2 separate regions of the Homo sapiens genome follow, and region 1 is linked to region 2. The links are contacts of gene promoters, found by promoter capture Hi-C in blood cells and fetal thymus (Javierre and others, 2016). All regions are on one chromosome and are shown on one strand. The core of a region is centred on a gene start or on the middle of the fragment in contact, and the rest is flanking DNA. Distances in the headings are between cores, read along the strand shown.

The links. The method cuts DNA at HindIII sites, captures the fragments that hold promoters and counts their contacts. A CHiCAGO score of 5 or more calls a contact.
Region 1: a fragment that was not itself captured here is called in contact with the fragment with the promoter of LINC01148 in region 2 in 2 of 17 cell types (M2 macrophages and M1 macrophages); the score reaches 10.8 in M2 macrophages.

Annotation. Positions count from the first base shown.
Region 1 is chr14:81,622,585-81,627,426 of GRCh38, reverse strand. LINC01467 (long intergenic non-protein coding RNA 1467) reads left to right here and starts at 4,366. Exons shown (of 3, transcript NR_110074.1): 1 at 4,366-4,774. The HindIII fragment of the contact is 1,929 bases long and covers 2,453-4,381 here.
Region 2 is chr14:86,904,290-86,909,405 of GRCh38, reverse strand. LINC01148 (long intergenic non-protein coding RNA 1148) reads right to left here and starts at 3,628. Exons shown (of 5, transcript NR_038445.1): 1 at 3,357-3,628. The HindIII fragment of the contact is 4,593 bases long and covers 1,903-5,116 here.

The sequences.
Region 1 (4,842 bases), core at 2,168-4,667, 5.3 Mb after region 2:
TAAATGAAATTATTTGGATAAAGCTCTTATGACCTAGCACATGTGAGATAAATATACATGAGTTGTCAGTGTTGTTGCTATTATTGGTTGTGTTTGGCCTTTTTACACAATACACATATTTTTTTTTCTGTGCCTCTGAGGCAGTTTACAAGAATGAACACTGTGTCCCAATCAATGCAGCATTATCAAATCTAGGACACTATCTGGATTGATACCACTCTCAGCAAACACAATGACCTTGCTGGCATCTTCCTGCAAGAGGTTGATGGGACAGGATGGCTGGGGGCAGCTCAAATACCTGGAGGGGCAGGGAAAGGTTGTGGAGGGGTCAGCCAAGCCAGCATCACAGCTGTGCTCAATTACCACAAACAGATGTTGGCACCTCGACTCATTAGAAATGCAACCCAATCACACTGGCAGTCTAATCATCTTACTGGAAACTCTGGAGATAGGAAGACCCTGTGCTCCCAATTCCAGTGGTCAGATCAGTAAAGGTCACTCTCCCTGTCCCCAAGCAAAAGACTTCATGTGGCAAATCTCCACAGGGATTAGAGAAGCGGCTCGCAACTGAGGTCAATTTTATTCCCCACCAGATATTTGGCCATGACTGAAGACATTTTTGGTTGTTGCAACTTGAAGGGAGAGGAGGCTGCCACTGGCATCTAATGAGTAGAGACCAGGGATGCTGCTGAATATCCTAAACACAGGACCATCCCTGTGTTTGGGTTAGAACTACCTAACCCAAATTACTGATTGTGCTAAGATTGAGAAACCCTCCATTAACGATCTCAAACACATAAATAAGTTAAAAGAGGAAAATGCTTGGCCCCGGTGACATGGTCTTGAGGGTCTGTAACAGAGATTACAGAAGTGACCAGATAGATTATGAGCTAAAGCAACTATATTTTTATTCCTTTTCTCTAAAGTTCCCATATCTCAGTGAGACTTTATTTTGCTTCGTAATGTCCAGCAAGACATTATTTTTCAGTCTGTCAGTGAATCCAGCTATTAACGTATTGCTCCAAAAACTACTGCAGTCATTCCTTGGTATCTGAGGGGGATTAGTTTCAGGACCCCAGAAAATACAAAAATCCATGGATGCTCAAGTCACTGATATAAAATGGTGTCATATTTGCGTATAACCTACACATTTCCTGCTATATATTTTAAATCATTTCTAGATTACTTACAATACCTAATGCAATGTAAATGCTATGTAAACAGGCTGTATTGTTTTTCACTTGTATTATTTTTTGTTTTATTATTATTTTTGTTAGTTTTTTGCTGCTGTTGTTGTTGTTTAATATTTTCTTTTTCTTTCTTTCTTCTTTTTTTTCTTGAGACAGAGCTCTGTTGCTCAAGCTGGAGTGCAGCAGCGCAATAACAGCTCACTGCAACCTCTGCCTACCCGGTTCAAGCGATTCTCCTGCCTCAGCCTCTCAAGAAGCTGGGATTACAGGTGTCCACCACCATGCCCAGCTAATTTTTGTATTTTTACTAGAGACAGCGTTTTGCCATGTTGCTTAGGCTGGTCTCAAACTCCTGAGCTCAATCCTCCTGCCTCAGCCTTTCAAAGTGCTGGGATTACAAGCATGAGCCATCGTGCCCTACCGTTTAATAGTTTCCATTCCTGGCTGGTTGAATCCATGGATGCAGAACCCGCAAATACTGAGAGCCCACTGCATTTTACTACAGTCCTAAAATCTAAACTAGGACTTAGGACCCATACTAAAAAGATGTATACACAATATCTGCTTGTCCCCTACACTGTCCTTGTACCAACACCTGGAAAGTCTGGATAGTTGGACAACTACAGTATCACAGGAAATATACTCTTGAAGGTTTTAAACCAGAGCTAGGAAATAAGTAAAGTTAATACAACAGTGCCATCTAGTGAATGACAAGTATCTCAAAAGAGCCTAGATCTCGATTTCTCAAATCTAAGATTCATGCATTTTACTCAGACAAATTCAGTGCAGAATGGGAATGATATTAAACAAAATTGCATTATGTTATCCTCAGCCTTCAGAAGAACCCCTCCATGTGATCTAATGTCACATTTAAGAGGAAATCTTAATGTAGGCCAAGTAAGAAGAAGAAATTAGTAGAAATCCATGATTACCTCTATATTCAAATATTACATAACAAGAATCTAACACTAATTAGTGATAAGATCTGCAGCAGATTTCAATCTCCTGACACTGAGATCAATATCCTCTTGGTGACCCTAAACTGATGGAGCTGTGGCTCAGCCTCACATACCAGGTACACGTCCCAGCTCTGTGCTTAGTGCCTGGGTGACTGAAGACAAGTGAAACTTTTCTGGCCTTCTGTTTCTTCATCTGCCAAATGGTGTGATGATATAATAATACCCATTCATGGGACGTACCATAAACCCTAAAGGAGGCATTCTGGGAAAAGTGAATAACACGTGGTTTAGCATGGTAAAGCTTAGTTCCCTTTTCTAGCTGCTCCTCCTCCTTTATCTGCGTGTTTACCAAACGAGAATGAGACACCTAAGAGTCTGTTTCTTTTAAAAGCTGGCATTCAAATTTTTACTCAATAAATCTGAGTCCCTACTGTGTACCAAACACCATTATAGGTTCAGAGGATGGAAAAGTTTCCACCCTGGTGGAACAACCGTGTAATATGAAGGGATCTTGGAAGAAAATAATATAAAATCAGGGCAAAAAGACTTCAGTCTGAGATATCATGGAGAAGAAACACCTCTCAGAATGGATTTTGAAAAAGGAGGAGGGGGAGATAAACAAATACTGAAATTAAGGAACACACCTGGTATTCTCCTTGGAGACAGAACGGACAGCCACCAGGCTGTTGTCTAATTGAGTCACCTTGCAAAAGAGAGGAGATGAGAGCCTTACTGCAGGAAGAGGGATGTTCACATCCCAAAATGAGTATCCTCTGCCCTTGATTAAGCCCTCCACATCGTTTTCCCCAGCAACCTCTCCCTCACCATTCTAGGGCTGGGGTTCCACTTCAGAATTTCCTCCAAGTTAGCCACGCTGCCAGATGGAAGAACTAAAAATCAGGACCTACCTTTGGCTTTCCCCCTCCTCCTCTCCCATATCGCTCCTGTGAGAGGTGACAGCGTGATGGCGGCCCTCGCAGCCCTGGCTCGCTCTCGGTGCCCCCTTGGCCTCGGCGCCCATTCTGGCCGCACTTGAGGAGCCCTTCAGCCCGCCGCTGCACCGTGGGAGACCTTCTCTGGGCTGGCCGAGGCCGGAGCTGGCTCCCTCGGCTTGTGGGGAGGTGTGGAGGGAGAGGCACGGGCGGGAACCGGGGCTGCGCGTGGCGCTTGCGGGCCAGCTAGAGTTCCGGGTGGGCGTGGGCTTGGCGGCCCCGCACTCGGAGCGGCCGGCCAGCCCTGCCGCCCCGGGCAGTGAGGGGCTTAGCATCCAGGCCAGCAGCTGCGGAGGGTGCGCCCGGTCCCCCAGCAGTGCTGGCCCACCGGCGCTGCGCTCGATTTCTCGCCCGGCCTTAGCTGCCTCCCCGCTGGGCAGGGCTTGGGACCTGCAGCCCGCCATAACTGAGTCTCCCCCGCCCCGCCGTGGGCTCCTGCGCGGCCTGAGCCTCCCGGAGGAGCACCGCCGACCGCCTAAGGGCTGAGGAGTGCGGGCGCACGGCGGGAGACTAGCGGGCAGCTCCACCTGTGGCACTGTGCAAGATCCACTGGGTGAGGCCAGCTGGGCTCCTGAGTCTAGTGGGGACTTGGAAAACCTTTGTGTCTAGCTAAGGGATTGTGAGTGCACCAATCAGCACTCTGTGTCTAGCTCAAGGTTTGTAAACACCAATCAGCACCCTGTGTCTAGTTTGGGGTTTGTGGATGCACCAATGGGCACTCTGTATCTAGCTAATCTGGTGGGGACTTGGAGAATCTTTATGTCTAGCTAAGGGATTGTGAATGCACCAATGGGCACTCTGTGTCTAGCTCAAGGTTTGTAAATGCAACAATGAGCGCTTTGTGTCTAGCTAATCTGGTGGGGACTTGGAGAATCTTTATGTCTAGCTAAGGGGTTGTGAATGCACCAATTGGCACTCTGCATCTAGCTCAAGGTTTGTAAATGCACCAATCAGCACCCTGTGCCTAGCTCAGGGTTTGTAAATACACCAATGGACACTCTGTATCTAGCTAATCTAGTGGGGATGTGGATAACTTTTGTGTCTAGCTCAGGGATTGTGAACACACCAATCGGCACCCTGTCAAAATGGACCAATCAGCTCTCTGTAAAACAGACCAATCGGCTCTCTGTAAAATGGACCAATCAGCAGGATGTGGGTGGGGCCAGATAAGATAATAAAAGCAGGCTGCGTGAGCCAACAGTGGCAACTTGTTCGGGTATCCTTCCCCAGTGTGGAAGCTTTAGTTCTTTTGCTCTTTGCAATGAATCTTGCTGCTGCTCACTCTTTGGGTCCACGCTGCGTTTACACTGTGTTTATGAGCTGTAACACTCACCACAAAGGTCTGCAGCTTCACTCCTGAAGCCAGCAAAGACCACGAACCCACCAGGAAGAAGGAACAACTCCAGACACGCAGCCTTAAGAGCTGTAACACTCACTGCCAAGGTCTTCAGCTTCACTCCTGAGCCAGCCAGACCATGAACCCACCAGAAGGAAAAAACTCGGAACACATCCCAACATCAGAAGGAACAAACTCTGGACATGCCGCCTTTAAGAACTGTAACAACGCAAGGGTCCGCGGCTTTATTCTTGAAGTCAGTAAGACCAAGAACCCAATTCCGGACACGTTTGGACCGTGAGTCCCTTTCTTGGGTTGGCTCAATGTTTTATATGTAAGACAGCAACAGTGTCAGTGTTCTAGTT
Region 2 (5,116 bases), core at 2,379-4,878:
GGGATTCTTTAATTCAAGTCTTTTCATGGCAGCATGAACAAATTAAAGACTGGATTTAGAATATGGGAATAGCATGATATGTGAGAATGGCAAATTAATGCCATATTTCATGATTTACAAAGCAAAATTATTTCCTATAATTTTCTGCCATGTGATATCTTATAGTCTCTCAGAAAACTGTTTTGGATAACATTTCAAGCCTTCTCCCACTCAGTTTCTGGTGGTGTTCTCTGTGTGTGAGTACTTGGCAAAACTTGTTTAATAAGTGCTATATTTCAATTTGCCTGATAATAAATGAGTCAAAGAGGAGTACAGATAACTGCATTTCCATTGACCATTTTAGCAACAGAAAACAGCAAATGCCTATTGACTGACAGACAGTTACAGAGCAAGCCAATGACAAGATGATTGAAATATCTGCCTTTATCCTTCCAGCTCCTTGTTCCATCAAATAAATGAAACTATGCTTTATTGATGCTGTGTTTATATTTGGGAAAGCATGCATATGAACACTGCCTGATGTTGGATTTTGCAAATATTATTAGAAAATAACCAGCTGTGTTTGGACCTGATGAAGCTATTTATTATTTTAAATACTTGGAAGGAAGGAGGGATGCCCGTATGCTTTGTCTACGTGGTGTGATCTCACTAAAAGACATGATGTGTATATATCAAAACTCAGTAAAAGAGGGAAATTCCTTCAAGCTTCAAATGTTGACGAACCCTTTTGCTTATTTCTAATAGTATTCCATTCAGTTCACACAGCCTAAATTATTTCTGAAACATTACCTCAGCAGAGCTTGTTAATACATTCTTTTATGTCTGCCCGCCTTTTAAACACTCAGTTTACACTTACTTTTCCCTGGCTAACTTCATGCAGCAGATAGGCAAACTTTATCCTAAAAAGTAGTAAAATGAATCTCAATGTTTAAGCAATTAACTGATATACAAAGTATATTTATATAAGGCCATGTTTAAGACACTAAGGTATTACAGACATAATTTTCTTGTAATTAAAATTTCTTTCTTTCATTAGCTTACCTGGCTAGCACTACATATGAAAACTTATTTACAGAGAGGCAGCAAATTACATTCATTTTCTGCTCTTTTCTTTATTGCTGCTAACGCATTATATAGGGCCCAGGATACTGCTGTAGTTTAGCTTCCTGTCCCTGTTCTTAACTTTTTTTTCCTCATCACTTGCCATGTTTTATTGGTGAACAAGTATAACAAAATGTGGAATACACATTTCAGTTCTCTGAAGACATTTTCAAGATTTGTCTAATTACTCTCTTTCTTCATAATGGTAAATAAATTATTTATCTTACTGCAAAAGTTCATTTTAATGAGGCATTTAATAGAATATTTTCATAAGACCTGGACACAGTAGCTGTCACAAAAAATAACTGGATAGGAAATAGTGGAAACTAATCTTTCTTCTGCATTTATTTGCATTAAGTACTTACATAGGTGTTATTTAATCTTCAGAACAGCTCTAGGAAGAAGATGTTGTACATAACTTAACACATTAAGAAGAAAATTGAAGAAGTGAAGGAACTTGTCCAATCACATGCATCTAGCCAGTTTCAGCAGTGAGGTTTCTGTCTAGTTTGCTGTGCCTTAAAATGTTTGTGCTCCGTGGTACTTTATGCTGTTCTTTTCTTCTGTAGGAATTAGGGCTTAACCCATTTTTGACTGAGGCAGTTCAAGTTAAATGTGATATGGAGAAATTACCTCTACAGCCATATAAAAAACAGCAGGAAAAAATGCCATTTAGAGGAATCTTTATGGAAAAATGAGAAGCAAACTGCTCCTTTATGAAAGAGAACTTTAAAAATCAATTAAAATGAAAACTAACGCAATTAATTTCCTTTAGGACTTAAAAAAATCAGTGCTAAAGCTTGAAATAAATGGATTCTGTTAAAACCACTGGAAACTAGTTATTGATTCTGTTATTATTATTTATATTCATTGTTGGGATAAATAGAGATATGTCATTGATTATCACTGCCATGAAAACTGAGATTTGAATATACCACAAGAGTTCTCATCTCCTGATTTAAAAGAACTTTTCATATCTGTATCTTTTAAAATATTAAAAATAAATCTTCAATATTTTTGTTCATTTATAAAGCTACATCATAGGTTTTAAGAATATTAATACAAACAAAGGATTTCAATGAAAAATATGACGCATGAGGAAGTTTATTCGGAAAGATGACATTGAGTTTCTAGCCCTTTAATATACATAGGGTTAAACTATAAAAGCGCTGAGATAAATCTTTGCATGTGCTACAAGGTATAATAATTATGACTGGCTTAAACTATAGACTCATTTGATGTGATCAAGTGATGCCCACGTCTTATAATTGAGGGACATTATTTGCCAAAAACCCCTTCTCAACATGTGCTCCATAATGCACCTGAAGTACCTTCATTATCATAACATGACTTTATGTTTAGCATTACCCTCTTTTCTGGAGTCTTCTTTTAAAATGTTGATATTTCAACAATTAGATAACCTCCCTTCTTGACAGGATATTCCTGACCAATATAGGAAGAAAATAAATTATTTTGTTATGAAAGACAGAAGACAACAATAGCAAACTGCATACTCTACCACTGTATTTAGAATCAGTCTCAAATTTAGCTGGACTTCACATTCATGGATTCAGCTTTACAGGTTATGTAATATTTTGAGATATAAATTCACATTGGAAGACTTGTCATGAATAGACCAAGAATCCTTAATTCAAAGCATCATTTAGAAATGTTAATTTTTGTCAATCAATACTAAATAATCTTCTGGGGTTTCCCTCGGTGATATCCTAACACTCAGTGGATGTCATTTTTATTTTATTTTTAATATCAGTATCATCTATATTCCTCTTTTTTTGGTTCTATTCAACAAACTTTTACTGATCACCTACTATAAGCCAGGTTATCTCTAGATACTTGGATTACAAATATAGATATGTTGTTTCTTCCACCTTGAAGAATTTCAATTTTCTAAGAGGGGGCAATCAGGGGACACAAAATTACATAGACTTCCTAAATGACCATACTTTAAGAGTAAGAGGCACAAAACAAACCAACCAACCAACCACCACCAACAACAAAAAACAAAAACAAAAACAAACACCCATAATTTATAAAGGGTATAGTATTTGGGGAGGGGGTGAAATTGACACTAAAACTTTCTGTGTAAACGGAAAAATGTTGTTTTTAAAACTGTTTTAAAATAGTTTCTGTCTCTTTAGAGGTCGATTTATCTTGGGCAAGCAATAAATACTTTTGCTCTCAGAAAACCGCCAAAACTTATTTTCTTATTAGCTGAGTAGAAAACAAGTACTCACCATTGTGGCTATGGAAGACATAAGCAGGCCAAAGGCATCATTCACCTAAGTAGAGACGAGGTGACAGCGTGCTGTCAGTCCTCACAGCCCTCGCTCCCTCTTGGCGCCTCCTCGGCCTTGGCGCCCACTCTGGCCACGCTTGAGGAGCCCTTCAGCCCGCCGCTGCACTGTGGGAGCCCCTTCCTGGGATGGCCGAGACCGGAGCCGGCTCCCTCAGCCTGCAGGGAGGTGTGGAGGGAGAGGCACGGGCGGGAACCGGGGCTGCGTGCTGCGCTTGCGGGCCAGCTAGAGTTCCGGGTGGGCGTGGGCTTGGCGGGCCGCGCACTCGGAGCGGCCAGCCGGCCCTGCCGGCCCCTGGTAGTGAGGGGCTTAGCATCCTGGCCAGCAGCTGTGGAGGGTGCGCCGGTTCCCCCAGCAATGCTGGCCCACCGGCGCTGCGCTCGATTTCTCGCTGGGCCTTAGCTGCTCCCCCGCGGGGCAGGGCTTGGGACCTGTAGCCTGCCATGCCTGAGTCTCCCCGCCCCGACGACGCCGTGGGCTCCTGCGCGGCCTGAGTCTCCCGGACGAACGCCGCCTCCTGCTCCAAGGCGCCTGGTCCCATCAACCGCCCAAGGGCTGAGGAGTGCGGGCGCACGGCGCGGGGCTGGTAAGCACCTCCACCTGGGGCCCCAGTGGGAGATCCACCAGGTGAAGCCAGCTGGGCTCCTGAGTCAAGTGGGGACTTGAGAATCTTTATGTCTAGTTAAGGGATTGTGAATACACCAATTGGCACTCTGTATCTAGCTCAAGGTTTGTAAATGCACCAATCAGCACTTTGTGTCTAGCTGAGGGTTTGTAAATACACCAGTCAGCACTCTGTATCTAGCTAATCTAGTGGGGACGTGGAGAACTTTTGTGTCTAGCTCAGGGATTGTAAATGCACCAATCAGCACCCTGTCAAAACGGACCAATCAGCTCTCTGTAAAACAGACCAATCGGCTCTCTGTAAAATGGACCAATCAGCAGGATGTGGATGAGGCCAGATAAGAGAATAAAAGCAGGCTGCCTGACCTAGCAGTGGCAACCGTTGGGGTCTCCTTCTGCATTGTGGGAGCGTTGTTCTCTCACTCTGCAGTAAATCTTGCTGCTGCTCATTCTTTGGGTCCACACTGCCTTTATGAGCTGGAACACTCACTGCGAAGGTCTGCAGTTTCACTCCTGAAGCCACCGAGACCACAAACCCACCGGGAGAAAGGAACAACTCCAGACGCGCCGTCTTAAGAGTTGTAACACACACTGGGAAGGTGTGCAGCTTCACTCCTGAGCCGGGGAGACCACGAACCCACCAGAAGGAAGAAACTCCGAACACATCCGAACTTCAGAAGGAACAAACTCTGGACACGCCGTCTTTAAGAACTGTAACACTCACCGCAAGGGTGGTGGCTTCACTCTTGAAGTCAGACCAAGAACCAACCAATTCCAGACACAGAGATATGTTTGCCATACAAATTATTGTTCTGCCGGGTAAATGAAGTTGCATGTATCTTTCAATATAAAATAAGTGCAAATTTTATATGCCTGTTTGGGAAAAATAGTACCTTTGTTTGATTTAAAACACTTTTCTTCTGTTTTTAAATTTTAGACTTTTCTAATGGAGTTGTATATAGCTGTTTTTGAGCAGCTGTTTGTAAATGAGAAGCTGTGATGGAAGAATCTTAGGAAAGTGATGAAGGCTGTTCTTTATTTCAACCCTAAAGAGACTATGAAAAGGAACTAGACTG